Regions from separate parts of the Homo sapiens genome. Here all the other regions are linked to region 3. The links are contacts of gene promoters, found by promoter capture Hi-C in human tissues and cell types (Jung and others, 2019). All regions are on one chromosome and are shown on one strand. The core of a region is centred on a gene start or on the middle of the fragment in contact, and the rest is flanking DNA. Distances in the headings are between cores, read along the strand shown.

The links. Contacts are between HindIII fragments. The study calls those that stand out against the background at their distance.
Region 1: a fragment that was not itself captured here is called in contact with the fragment with the promoter of LSM5 in region 3 in 1 of the 25 tissues and cell types used here (lymphoblastoid cells).
Region 2: a contact is called between a fragment that was not itself captured here and the fragment with the promoter of LSM5 in region 3, in 1 of the 25 tissues and cell types used here (hippocampus).

Annotation. Positions count from the first base shown.
Region 1 is chr7:32,945,175-32,949,003 of GRCh38, reverse strand. No RefSeq gene overlaps it. Among named protein-coding and RNA genes, the nearest start is that of FKBP9, 10 kb to the left of the region's middle. The HindIII fragment of the contact is 4,202 bases long and covers 1-3,829 here.
Region 2 is chr7:32,885,233-32,889,122 of GRCh38, reverse strand. The region is part of intron 1 of KBTBD2 (kelch repeat and BTB domain containing 2); the gene reads left to right. Among named protein-coding and RNA genes, the nearest start is that of KBTBD2, 4.6 kb to the left of the region's middle. RefSeq lists an enhancer at 1-363. The HindIII fragment of the contact is 4,049 bases long and covers 1-3,890 here.
Region 3 is chr7:32,488,097-32,492,126 of GRCh38, reverse strand. LSM5 (LSM5 homolog, U6 small nuclear RNA and mRNA degradation associated) reads left to right here and starts at 1,747. Exons shown (of 5, transcript NM_012322.3): 1 at 1,747-1,807; 2 at 2,783-2,878; 3 at 3,475-3,502. The coding sequence starts at 1,762. RefSeq lists an enhancer at 1,795-1,844. The HindIII fragment of the contact is 28,883 bases long and covers 1-4,030 here.

The DNA.
Region 1 (3,829 bases), core at 771-3,270, 460 kb before region 3:
GAGATGACTAGAATGCAGATCCTGTCAGATTATTGAACTGCACATTTCCTACCCAGCATCCCAGCATCCCCCGTCTTTCTCTCTCTATCTCTCTGTCTCTGTCTCTGTCTCTCTCTGTTTAAGTCATAGCACATTGATTTTGGTTTCCAGAACTACCCCTTCCCCACTGTCAGTCTACATGACAGGGGTAAAGCTGATTCCACCCCTGGTAATTATGGCAGGCATGTAACCTAGGCTTGGCCAGAGTGACGCAGGATTTTTCTCAGTCATTTTGCCAGCTAGGGACCTCCAGCTGGTACCACTGCCACCTGGGCCTTGCTCAGGCATGCTACCTGCTGCAGGAGGTGCCCTGCCTACTCAGTCTGCCTGAGCCAAGTCTGGCTTGTGCATTGGCTCAGTCCGTGGCTGGGCCAGGTGTGCCTCAGCTCTCCTGTGTTACAGCATGTACACACATTCAGTGGTTCCTAAGTTCCTGTCCCATGTCCAAGAAGAATAAGGATACACTGACAATTGAAGGGTGAGGAGGGTGGAGAAGAACTTTATTGAGCAATGGAATAGCTCTCAGCGGAGAGGGGATGCAGAGGTGGCCTCCTGCTCACCCCCCTCCCCCGTCGGTTGGTTTCTCTCTCAGTGTGGCTGAGTCTGGGGCTTTTATGAGCTCAGAATAGGGAAGTGCATGCTGATTGGTTTGTGAGTACGCAAAGAAAGGCTAAAGCAAAAGCACCCCTCAAAGGTGGGTATGGCAGTGTAGAAAACCAATTAGGAAAGGGTAGGTATATGTAAAATAGGTGAAGGGTGGAGAATCAATCAGAGGAAAGCATGTCAAATGGGAAGACAGATTCTCAATCTCATCCGTAGATTTGACTTATAGCTTGGCTTTCAGGTTTTACACTGTCTTCAGCTTGTAGGTGGGGTTTCTCCAGGGACCTGCCCCTATCTGCCTAGGCATTTGTCTGCCTACTGCTGCTATGAAGAGCACCGCATCTCTCTGACCACAGTGATTTTTTTCCTTCAGAGCTACGTGATGTTTGCTGAGTCAATGAGCATAGTTTAAGTTTTTTGGAAATAAGATTTCTTTCAGTGGAGGCTGCTAAATTGGTGGCCATCTATGCCTTCTAGTGTCCATCTTTGCCACCACAATGAGAGAACCTACATGAGAATAAATCAATACAAAGGAAGGTGAGGCTGAGAGAGGGAGAAAGTGCTGACTGTATAATTTCAGCACCTAGATACAGTCATTCCTGAAGCTTCACCCGTGGACATTTCACATATGTGAGCCAATAAATTCCTTTTTTTTTTCCTTAAAACAGCGTGATTTGGATTTTGGTCCATTGCTATTTTCAAAAGAGCCTTGATGCATAGTTGCTTAAGTGGAAATATTGATCCCTGGGTCTTCTTGGTGAGAAAATAAATCACTGTTGTTGTATATCTAACAAGGCAAATATTTGAATCAGTCAAAACTCTTTCAATTGCAAGTGAGAGAAACCTGACTCAATTGGTTTCAGCACAAAATTATATCTTAACATTTTTAGACTACTTGCTTGCTGACTCTAAGGTCACTGATTATGGCTGGACAATTTCTTTCTTTTCTTTTACCCTAAAGGAATTAAATAAAAGGGTTCATGCTTATAATCCCAGCACTTGGGGTGGCTGAGGCAGGAGGATTGCTTGAGCCCAGGAATTCAAAGCTGGAACGAGCTGTGATCGTGCCTCTGCACTCCAGCCTTGGCATAGCTAAAATTATTGTCTAACTGAACACCTTTTTAAGAAATATAAAAATATAAAAAATATAGAAAATATAAAAATATAAAAAGAGGGCCAGGTGCTGTGGCTCACACCTGTAATCCCAGCACTTTGGGAGGCCGAGGTAGGCAGATCAATTGAGGTCAGGAGTTGGAGACCAGCCTAGCCAACATGGCAAAACCTCATCTCTATTAAAAATACAAAAATTAGCCAGGAGTGGTGGTGTGTGCCTGTAGTACCAGCTACTCAGGAGGCTGAGGCATGAGAATCACTTGAAGCCAGGAGGCAGAGGTTGCAGTGAGCTGAGATTGTGCTACTGCACTCCAACCTGGGCAACAGAGTGAGACTCTGTCTCAAAAAAAAAAAAAAAAAAAAAGGCCAGGCATGGTGGCTTACATCTGTGATGCCAGCACTGTGGGAGGCCGAGGTGGGCAGATAACCTGACATCAGGAGTTCAAGATCAGCCTGGTCAACATGGTGAAACCCTGTCTCTACTAAAAACACAAAAATTAGCCAGTTGTGGTGGTACATGTCTATAATCCCAGCTGAGGCAGGAGAATCGCTTGAAACTGGGAGGCGGAGATTGCAGTGAGTCAAGATCATGTCACTGCACTCCAGCCTGGGCAACAGAGTGAGACTCCATCTCAAGAAAAAAACAAACAATAACAACAAAAAACCAAACAACAACAACAAAACCACATCATTTTCCTGCATTGGTATTCCTTCTGGCTGATGACATTCCAGGAGTTGTTTTTTTTTTTTTTCTTAATTAAAGCTTCATTTGCCTGAAGAAGCCAGATAAGTTTCTCACTGGTTCAAAAATAATTATGTGTATGGAAGGATAAAAAGACACTTATGTGACCAGGCATGGTGGCTCATGTAATTCCATTGCTTTGGGAGACCAAGGTAGGAGGATCACCTGAGGTCAAGAGTTTGAGACCAGTCTGGGCAACATAGTGAGATCCCCTGTCTACAACAACAACAACGAAGACACTTATGCAATGGTGTTGCTGTTCAGTGATACTGTCTCCACTAAATTTGTGGTCTGTATATGAGTGCATGTGGAACGGATTTCTGTATACCTCAAACAACATAGAAACATGGCACAGAAGATGCGAAAACAGAGAATGCTGTTGGTGTATATAGAATCACAAAAGAATTTCAGAAAGAGTGGCACTTCATAGAAAATTAATGTGAACGTATTATCCAAGAAGAATCATGTTCTAAAAGGGAAAAAAAGCAGCTATTTATCCTGATGCAAGTCTTCCAATAATCATAAAATTGGCCAGCTCTTATGGACAATCTCCATGCAATTGGCCATGATCTATCCCTGTAATACACTGTAATTCCAGTTACTCAGGAGGCAGGAGGATTGCTGAGGATCGGCCTGGGCAACATAGTGAGACTTCATTTCTAACAACAACAACAACAACAAAAATTAAGTTAAAAGGGAAGGAAAAGTGAACAGAGCTTAAGGGACCAATGGGACATTATCAAGTGAACCAATTTATGCATTGTGGGAGTCCAGGAAACAGGAAAGAAATAGAAAGGGGCACAGAGACTATTTAAATAAATAATGGCCAAAACTTCTCAAATTTGATGAAATCCGTGAATATAAAAATCCAAGAAGTTCAACAAATTCCAATTAAGATGAACTCAAAGAGATTCACAACAAGACACATTATAGTCAAACTTTTGAAAGACAAAGACAAAGAGAGTATCTTTAAAGCAGCAAGAGAAGCAACTCATCTGACAAGGGATCCATAATTAGATTATGTGCAGATTTCTCATCAGAGACTTTAGAGGCCAGAAGGCACATGGCTAATATATTCAAATTGCTAAAAGGAAAAACCATCAATCATATGTCCTATATCGAGCAAGACTGTCCTTCAAAAATTAGGGACAAATTGAGACATTTCAAGATAAACAAAAGCCAAAGAAGTTTATTACCATTAGACAAGCCCTGAAAGAAATGTTCAAGGGAGTTCCACAGGCTGAAATAAAAGAACACTAGGCTAGGCACCGTGGCTCATGCTTGTATTCCCAGCACTTTGGAAGGCCGAGGCAGGTGGATCACTTGAGGTCA
Region 2 (3,890 bases), core at 762-3,261, 400 kb before region 3:
CCAGGATGGTCTCGATCTCCTGACCTGGTGATCTGCCCGCCTCGGCCTCCCAAAGTGCTGGGATTTACTGGTGTGAGCCATTGCGCCTGGCCACTTTTCCCCAGCTTTCTTAAGTCACTGCGCAGAGGTGAGAGGAAAAAGGAAAAGTGATACCCAAAATAAAAGGACATAGTATACTCATATGATTATTGTATCGCAGGTGGCATTGCCTTTATGTTCTTGTTTAATTTTTTAAAACTGAGATAACTTGTTAATCATAATATAGTACAGCTTGTACTTGTGACCTGAATTTACTTAGGGTGCTGAGCGTAATTAACCTGATGGAGCCATGTCATCTATCAGTATGGTTGGAAAGAGAGAACAGACCTAAGCTCTGAATGTGACTAGAGCAGAGGAAGCTATGCTGAAATTTTTTTTTTTTTTTTTTTGGGACGGAGTCTCGCTGTGTCGCCCAGGCTGGAGTGCAGTGATGCGATCTCGGCTCACTGCAAGTATGCTGAAATTTTTAAAACTTGATAGATTCTTCAAAAGGCCAGGTGTTTGTTTTTTTGGTTTTTTTGTTTTTTTTTGGTTTGTTTTTTAATTGATGCCTGTCACAACTCCAGAAAATTCTGTTTGTGTAGCAGTTGACAATCTAAAAAACAAATGGTCTTTTCCAGACATTCTCAACTGTCGTGGTTGTTTTGATAACTTGAAAGCAAACTGTTTCTAGCACCCATCTCTTGTCCTTCCTAAGGAGAAAACTATCTCATTGAAATAAAGAAAGGCTTGTTTTATGACTGGTGCCTTTCTGGACTCTCATTTAGTTTTTTACACTGACATCAGCCTCCTCAAGATTGGTCGTCTTTTAAGCACTAGTTTGTTTCATTATTTGTACCATCAAAATATGTGAGAAAAGGAAAAAAAAAGGAAAAATTATCTTAATATTTTAGAACACTGAATTCAGATTTCAAGTGTCAAATGTTTGCAAAAAAGTCCCAATATTCTCTGAAAACATTGGATTTCTCTTATGTAAAATACCATTTAGACAGAATGAAAAAAGAGAACTGTATTTGGAGTGCTGAGACCTTGAAATTGGAATCTTCGGACCTGGTGAAGGTGTGGAATCCAGGAGTTGGGAAAGTGCTGCAAAAGCTTCACCAGTGGGTGGGTTAATAAAAATAATTTCGAATATCTGTGTAGTGCTGTGTGTCAGGTACTGAACCAAGTATGAAATGTAATCCTAGAACAATTCATTGAGAAGAGAGTTGTACTTTTAACTACATTTTATAGATGAGCAAACTGAGGCATAGAGAATAAATAACTTAAAAAGGGCCACACAGCTATTAAGTTGCAGAACTGGGGCTTTAACCCAAGTAGTTTGGGTTTGTACTCAATTATTTTTCAACGGTTGACCTCCATGGAGAACGCCTTGGATCTTTTCCAACAAAAATTTTTAATCTTCTCTATTGACATTTGTAGCATTGGGAGATGCAGCACTCCCTAAGTTAGTAATGTACAATTTGAATGTGCTTCCTACAGGTGAATGATTTATAGCCGCACTGCCCCTCCTGGAGGGAGACCTATCATTCCTTCATTCCTACTATATAATTTATTTTATTTTTAGTTGGCAAATAATTGTATGTATTTGTGGGCTACAATGTGATGTTTCAATCTATGTACACATTGAGGAATGATTAAATCAGGCTATTTACATCTGTCACCTCATGTACTTATTTTTTTTGTGGTGAGAACATTTAGAATCTTTAGCAGTTTTGAAATACACAGTATATTATTGTTAACTGCGATCATCAACATGCTGTGTAACAGATCAGTAACACTTATTCCTCCTGTCCAATGGAAACTTTGTACCTACTACTGTGCTTATTGTAGCAGGCCTTGCTAGCAGCCTCCTTCCCATCTTTTTATCCTTTCTTCCTTTTTCATCCACAGCTCAGTTAATTGCTGATTGGTTTCTTTATCACATTCAATAGTTCTTTAATCCTTTATTCGTTCCTCAGTCTCTATATTCTGCCTGGTTAACATTGGAAAAGCTTGCTTTGCTTCTATTTGTGTTTCCAGGCTACTCAGTGGGAGGATGCTACAAAGTACACACCTCTAGGAATGAAAACTTGATTTCAAAGTGAAATTAGACATCTATCCCCCCTCATTGCCTCCCCCCAAAAAGCCAAAACACTGCCATCAACCTCTGACATCTTTAAAAGTATTTGGGATTTTTTAAAAATTTCAACATTTCATACTTTTAATCTTGGTTCCTTATCCTTTAATGTTAATAATCAGAATCTGTAAAACAATTTCATGGTCACTTATCTCTTTATGAGTATTAAAGTAGTATTTACTTTGTAAATTTTCTTTGCTGATAGACTTTCAGGCATGTTTTGCTGCTTATAGTGAGAAGTTAAACACCTTTTTAATACTGTTATTTTATAGGAAAGTTAAGTGAGGAATTCAGACAACCAACTTAAATTTGTTGCATAGAAACACAGTTGTCTCTTGGTTTCAGTGGGAGATTAGTTCCTAGGTCCCCTTGGGATATGAAAATCCAAGGACACTCAGGTCTCTGATAAAATGCCGTAGTATTTTCGATAACCTGTGCATATCCTCCCAATACTTTAAGTCATCTCTAGAAATAATATTTTGTGGGAAGAGTTTCAGATTTTTAAGTAGAATTGTATATGTTACTGTCGATTGCTAACTGATTTAATCCTGACAATCATTTAGTAACAATGTTTCAAAACTTTTATGTGTTGGAATTCACTCAGAACCTCGGAGACTTGGGCATCCTAGAGAAAATGTATTAGAAGCATTTGTTTTCAATCAGTTTATAAATTTTTGACTTCTGTAGGTAGTCTTCGGATTTAAAAATAAATAGGACTTTGTCCTGTAATAATTCGTAGAAAGTCAGTGGGTAGAGGCCGGACGTGGTGGCTCATGCCTGTAATCCTAGCACTTTGGGAGGCCGAGGCAGGCAGATCACCTGAGGTCAAGAGTTTGAGACCAACTTGGCCAACGTGGTGAAACCCCATCTCTACTAAAAATGTGAAAAATTAGCCGGACATGGTGGTGCGTGCCTGTAATCCCAGCTATTTAGGAGGCTGAGGCAGGAGAATTGCTTGAACCCGGGTGGTGGAGGTGGCAGTGAGCCTAGATCACACCATTGCACTCCAGCCTGGGCGACAGAGCGAGACTCTGTCTTTAAAAAAAAAAAAAAAAGTGTGTAGACAGTGGAGGAGAGGATTTCATCCTGTGTATAACATTTTAACCTTATCTTTGCCATTCTCTGCGATCAAGCAAATCAGTCAAAAACACTGAATTGAGCGCAGGACTTAAAAGAAGGAGTAAGAATATGTACACTTTTTATGTCAAAGTACATTGCACTTTATTAAGATTGTGAATTTCATTATATTGTGTTTGCATGACTCCAATTTAATTCTTATGCTGGTTAGCATTTTTTACTATGGAATATATTCTAATGATCAGTGTTAGAATATAGGACTTTCTTACTAATCTGGAAGCACCTGATACCAGGAATTGTGGCTTATAACAGGGATTTCCCAAAGTAATTTAAGTGTTTTTGAATAGCTTTTTCTCAGTATGGATTTTTTTTTTGGCAGGTTATCTTGGGGAGAGATGTCTTTTTTTTTTTTTTTAACCTTAATTAAAGGTACTCACACTAGATAAGAACATGTTTCGGAAGTCCACGGAACTAGCAGGAATTGGGGAAAGCAGTTGTGTGACTAGGTAAAAGATGTTAGAATATTTTGGTTGAGAAGAAAAGTGGAATATATATAAATTAGATTAAGAATTATATTTAATTCCGCGTTCAGGAATTTAAAGTTTGTGCTTTTCCTTGTTTTGTGATCTGAAGAGAAACATTATTCTTGCAGAAA
Region 3 (4,030 bases), core at 498-2,997:
GGTGGTTTTCAACCAAATGAGGATTGGACAAAAAGAAAAAAAGAGAAAGAGAAAGAAAGAAGCGTCACAAACAAATCTGGCATTACTTCGTATTTAAAATCTTATGAAGAGTAAGGAGAATGTTGATGGGTGTGAATGAAATAGTGAGAATCAATTTAAAGAATATTCATTAGGCGCCCTACAGTGTGCCTGAAAATGTAGTGTGCACAGTGTATAAAATAAGAAATTGCTTCCTTAAAGTGGCTTATGTCTGGTTATAAAAATAAGATGAATGCAAAACCAGCTAGCAATGCTAGCTTTATGTAGCTTCACTCTGAGCCAGACATCATGTATTAGAAAACAAGGATAAGTAATAACAGCTCATGTTTAAAAGGGCTATGTGCCAGGTCCTATGCTGACCACTTTTCATAGATTATCTCAATTAATCTTCACATTAATCTTATGAGTAGATACTGTTGTCCCCATTTTTTCCAATGGGTATATTGAGACTTAAAAAGTTAAAATAACTTGCCCATTGTCAAATAACTGACCATGGAATTTGAACCAAAGTCATTTAATTCAAAATGAAGAAATTTAATCACGTAAACTACTGCTTCCCATAATTCTCAGCCTTGAGGAACTCAGTCTATGAAGGAATGATGGGTGCTTAATGACCATTTGTTGTATGAATGAATGACGTTCTTTGTGGCCGCTCATGTTTATTGTTTAGCTTTTTTTTTTTTTTTTTTTGAGATGGAGTTTCGCTCTTGTTGTTCAGGCTGGAGTGCAGTTGCATGATCTAGGCTCACTGCAACCGCTGCCTCTCGGGTTCAAGCAGTTCTCCTGCCTCTGCCTCCCGAGTAGCTGGGACTACAGGCGCACGCCACCACGCCCAGCTAATTTTTGTATTTTTAGTAGAGACGGGGTTTCACCCATGTTGGCCAGGCTGGTCTCGAACTCCTGACCTCAGGTGATCCGCCCGCCTCGGCCTTCCAAAGTGCTGGGATTACAGTCGTTACCACTGCGCCTGACCTAGACTGTTCAGGTTTAAGTTCCTAGGATACAAATATAAAACAGACTAGGGCCGATACTTTGCTGTTTTCAACACAGAAGTGGAAAGCATGATTTTACACTTCTGGAATAATTTAGAGTGACATCTGGTGGTTGCCTGTGAGACAAGAATTGTTGAAGAAACTGAATTTAAAAGCCTATAATAAATAAGACTACCAGACATAAAAAGATAAGAACGATGAATTAAAGTAGTAAAAAGTTTAAAAAACATATCTTAAATCCTCACTAAAGAAAAATTTTAAAAAATGCTAGTTGCAGATTTTCAATCCACTGGACTTTAAAAAGAAACAATAGATTCCTTAATGAGTAGTTGTAACGAAAATTGTAACAGTTAATTGATGGCAGGAAATACGAATTGATTTATACTGGTTTGAAGATTCTGGCTTGAGAGGAAATGCAACTTTACGGGGGAAGAAGACTCAAACGTTACAGGAACAATTTATTCACAAGGCAAAATATCTTCAACGTCTCTCCAAAACTTCAAGGGCATTATGGGTATCTGCCGAGATGGTAAAATGTCCAGTGGGCAGGAAATATTTCACCGGATCTCACTTGCCGGGGAAAAAAGCCAGTGAACGCGACCCACGCAGCTGACTAGATCGTGCGCTCGGCCTCAGATTGGTCGAGCCTGTTTGGGCTGCGGAAAAAGCGGAAGCGCGCTTTTCAAAGTCGTCCCACCATCAATGAAGGCAGGCCACTTCCGGCGTAGCCATGGCGGCTAACGCTACTACCAACCCGTCGCAGCTGCTGCCCTTAGGTAATCGCCGTCCTTTGGGGAGCAGGAACAGGGAGCTGACATTCAGGATTGGGGGCCGAGGGGCTGTTCCGAGGCAGGCCCTGGCCGAGTGTGGGGAAATGTATAAGACCAAATGCGGTTCGACTCTGAGCTCCAAGTCTTCGCGACAGCAGGCCGCACCTGCTCTTTAACGTGGTCGGGCTCCTCCAGGCAAGGACTTTGACTTCTCAAACCAGACCTTCACTGGAAAAGGTCCACATTTAGTGAACGCGTCGTCGGCCTACTTTGTTGTGAGCCCGCCTCTGCAGTGTTATAGGTAGTAGGCCTACTTCTCAGCCTGGCGTTTACGATCCCCAGATTAGATAGACCATGTTATGTATGTGGTTGGTTAGTGACACTAACACCCTGGTCCGGAATGAGCCTTAAATGAGGAATCTGGAAACCAGCTCTGTTTGTTATTTATTCATTCAATAAGTAGTAACTGAGTATCTATACACTAGATACCGTGCCTGGGCATTTTTCAATGATAAACCATAGCCATTGCCTTCAAATAGCACACAAGCCAGTGGAGGAGAGAACACTGGACAAGTAGACATCATGCCACATAATGCTAGGCTAGCTAAAGAGATGTTCAAGCTACCGTCAGAGCACAGAGGATAGACAGAGTTGGGAAAGGGAAGCAGTGACCGGAGAGTTTCCGGTGAATATAATTATACCTATCTCCTCTTATATTTTTGTAGTTGGTGAAGAGTGATTGAACTAGTGGTCGTGGCCGTGATTGAAAAGTTTTCATTCCTTCATGCCACAGACTCTTTTGGAAGGCTCATTATGTGCCAGATGCTGTGCTTGAACTGAGATTTGTATTATAAGACCTAAAGTTATTGAATGAATGTTTTTCCTGGTTTTTCTTTCACTATATGCAAGTAAGAGTGCCAGTAGGCACTCAAATATTTGTTGAAATAATGAATGGTAAAATAATATTTTTTCCCTCCTCAGAGCTTGTGGACAAATGTATAGGATCAAGAATTCACATCGTGATGAAGAGTGATAAGGAAATTGTTGGTACTCTTCTAGGATTTGATGACTTTGTCAGTATCCTTTTAAAAGGTGGTGGTGGTATAGGTTTTTCTTAAGTAATAACATAAGAACTATAGACAATCAGTATATTTGTGATTATTATAATAAAAATCAGTTCATTCTCAGGGAACTTATGATAATGTTTTAAGAGGTATGTATTGAAAGACGGTAAAGTTCCTATCAACAACAAGCATTTTGAATTTGAGCCATTGTATTAAACATTGTAATTAAAACTGAACAGGCGAGCCCAGTGGCTCACGCCTATAATCCCAGCGCTTTGGGAGGGCGAGGTGGGTGGATCGCTTGAGCCCAGGAGTTTGAGACCAGCCTGGGCAAGATGATGAAACCCTGTCTCCACAAAAATTACAAAAATTAGCTGGGCATGGTGATGTACACCTGTGGGTCCAGCTAATCTCCGGGGCTAAGGCAGGAGGATCCTTTAAGCCTAAAAGGTGGAGGCTGCAGTGAGGTGTGATTGTACCACTGCACTTAAGCCTGGATGACAGAGCGAGACTTTGTCTCAAAACAAAAACAAAAACAAAAAACAAAAGCTGAACAAAGGCAGAAGCTAGAGTAAATTCTGTATTTATTTTCTTAACACCAAATTTCAGATATGGTACTGGAAGATGTCACTGAGTTGTGAGTAGTGTTAAAGAATTGGGGGGAATCTCTTCTTAATTAAAGACAGTTTTACTACTTTTGAGTAAAATTATTTATGAGAAAACATTACCTCTTGGTGGAATAACGTTAAAGATAGACGTTTTATCTGTTTGCTTGTAAAATTGGATCAGAGTGTTATTACCTTAATGTAATTATTAGTAAACGCCTAGAATATTAGTGGAGACACAGTTTTAAGGTAGAAGATAACAAAAAGAGCCAGGAATTTTAGGGTTCAGGTCAAATAAAGGAACTGATAGTAAGAGCATTTAGGCTGGACATGGTGGCTCATTCCTGTAATCCTAGCACTTTGGAAGGCCAAAGGAGGAGGATTAAGCCTGGGAGTTTGAGACCAGCCTGGGCAACAAAGGGAGACCCCTGTCTCTATAAAAAATTTAAAAATTAGCTGGTTATAGTAGGGGGCAGCTGTAGTCCTAGCTGCTCTGGAGGGTGAGGATCCCTTGAGCCCAGGAGTTCTAGGCTGCAGTGAACTATGATTGTACCACTGTA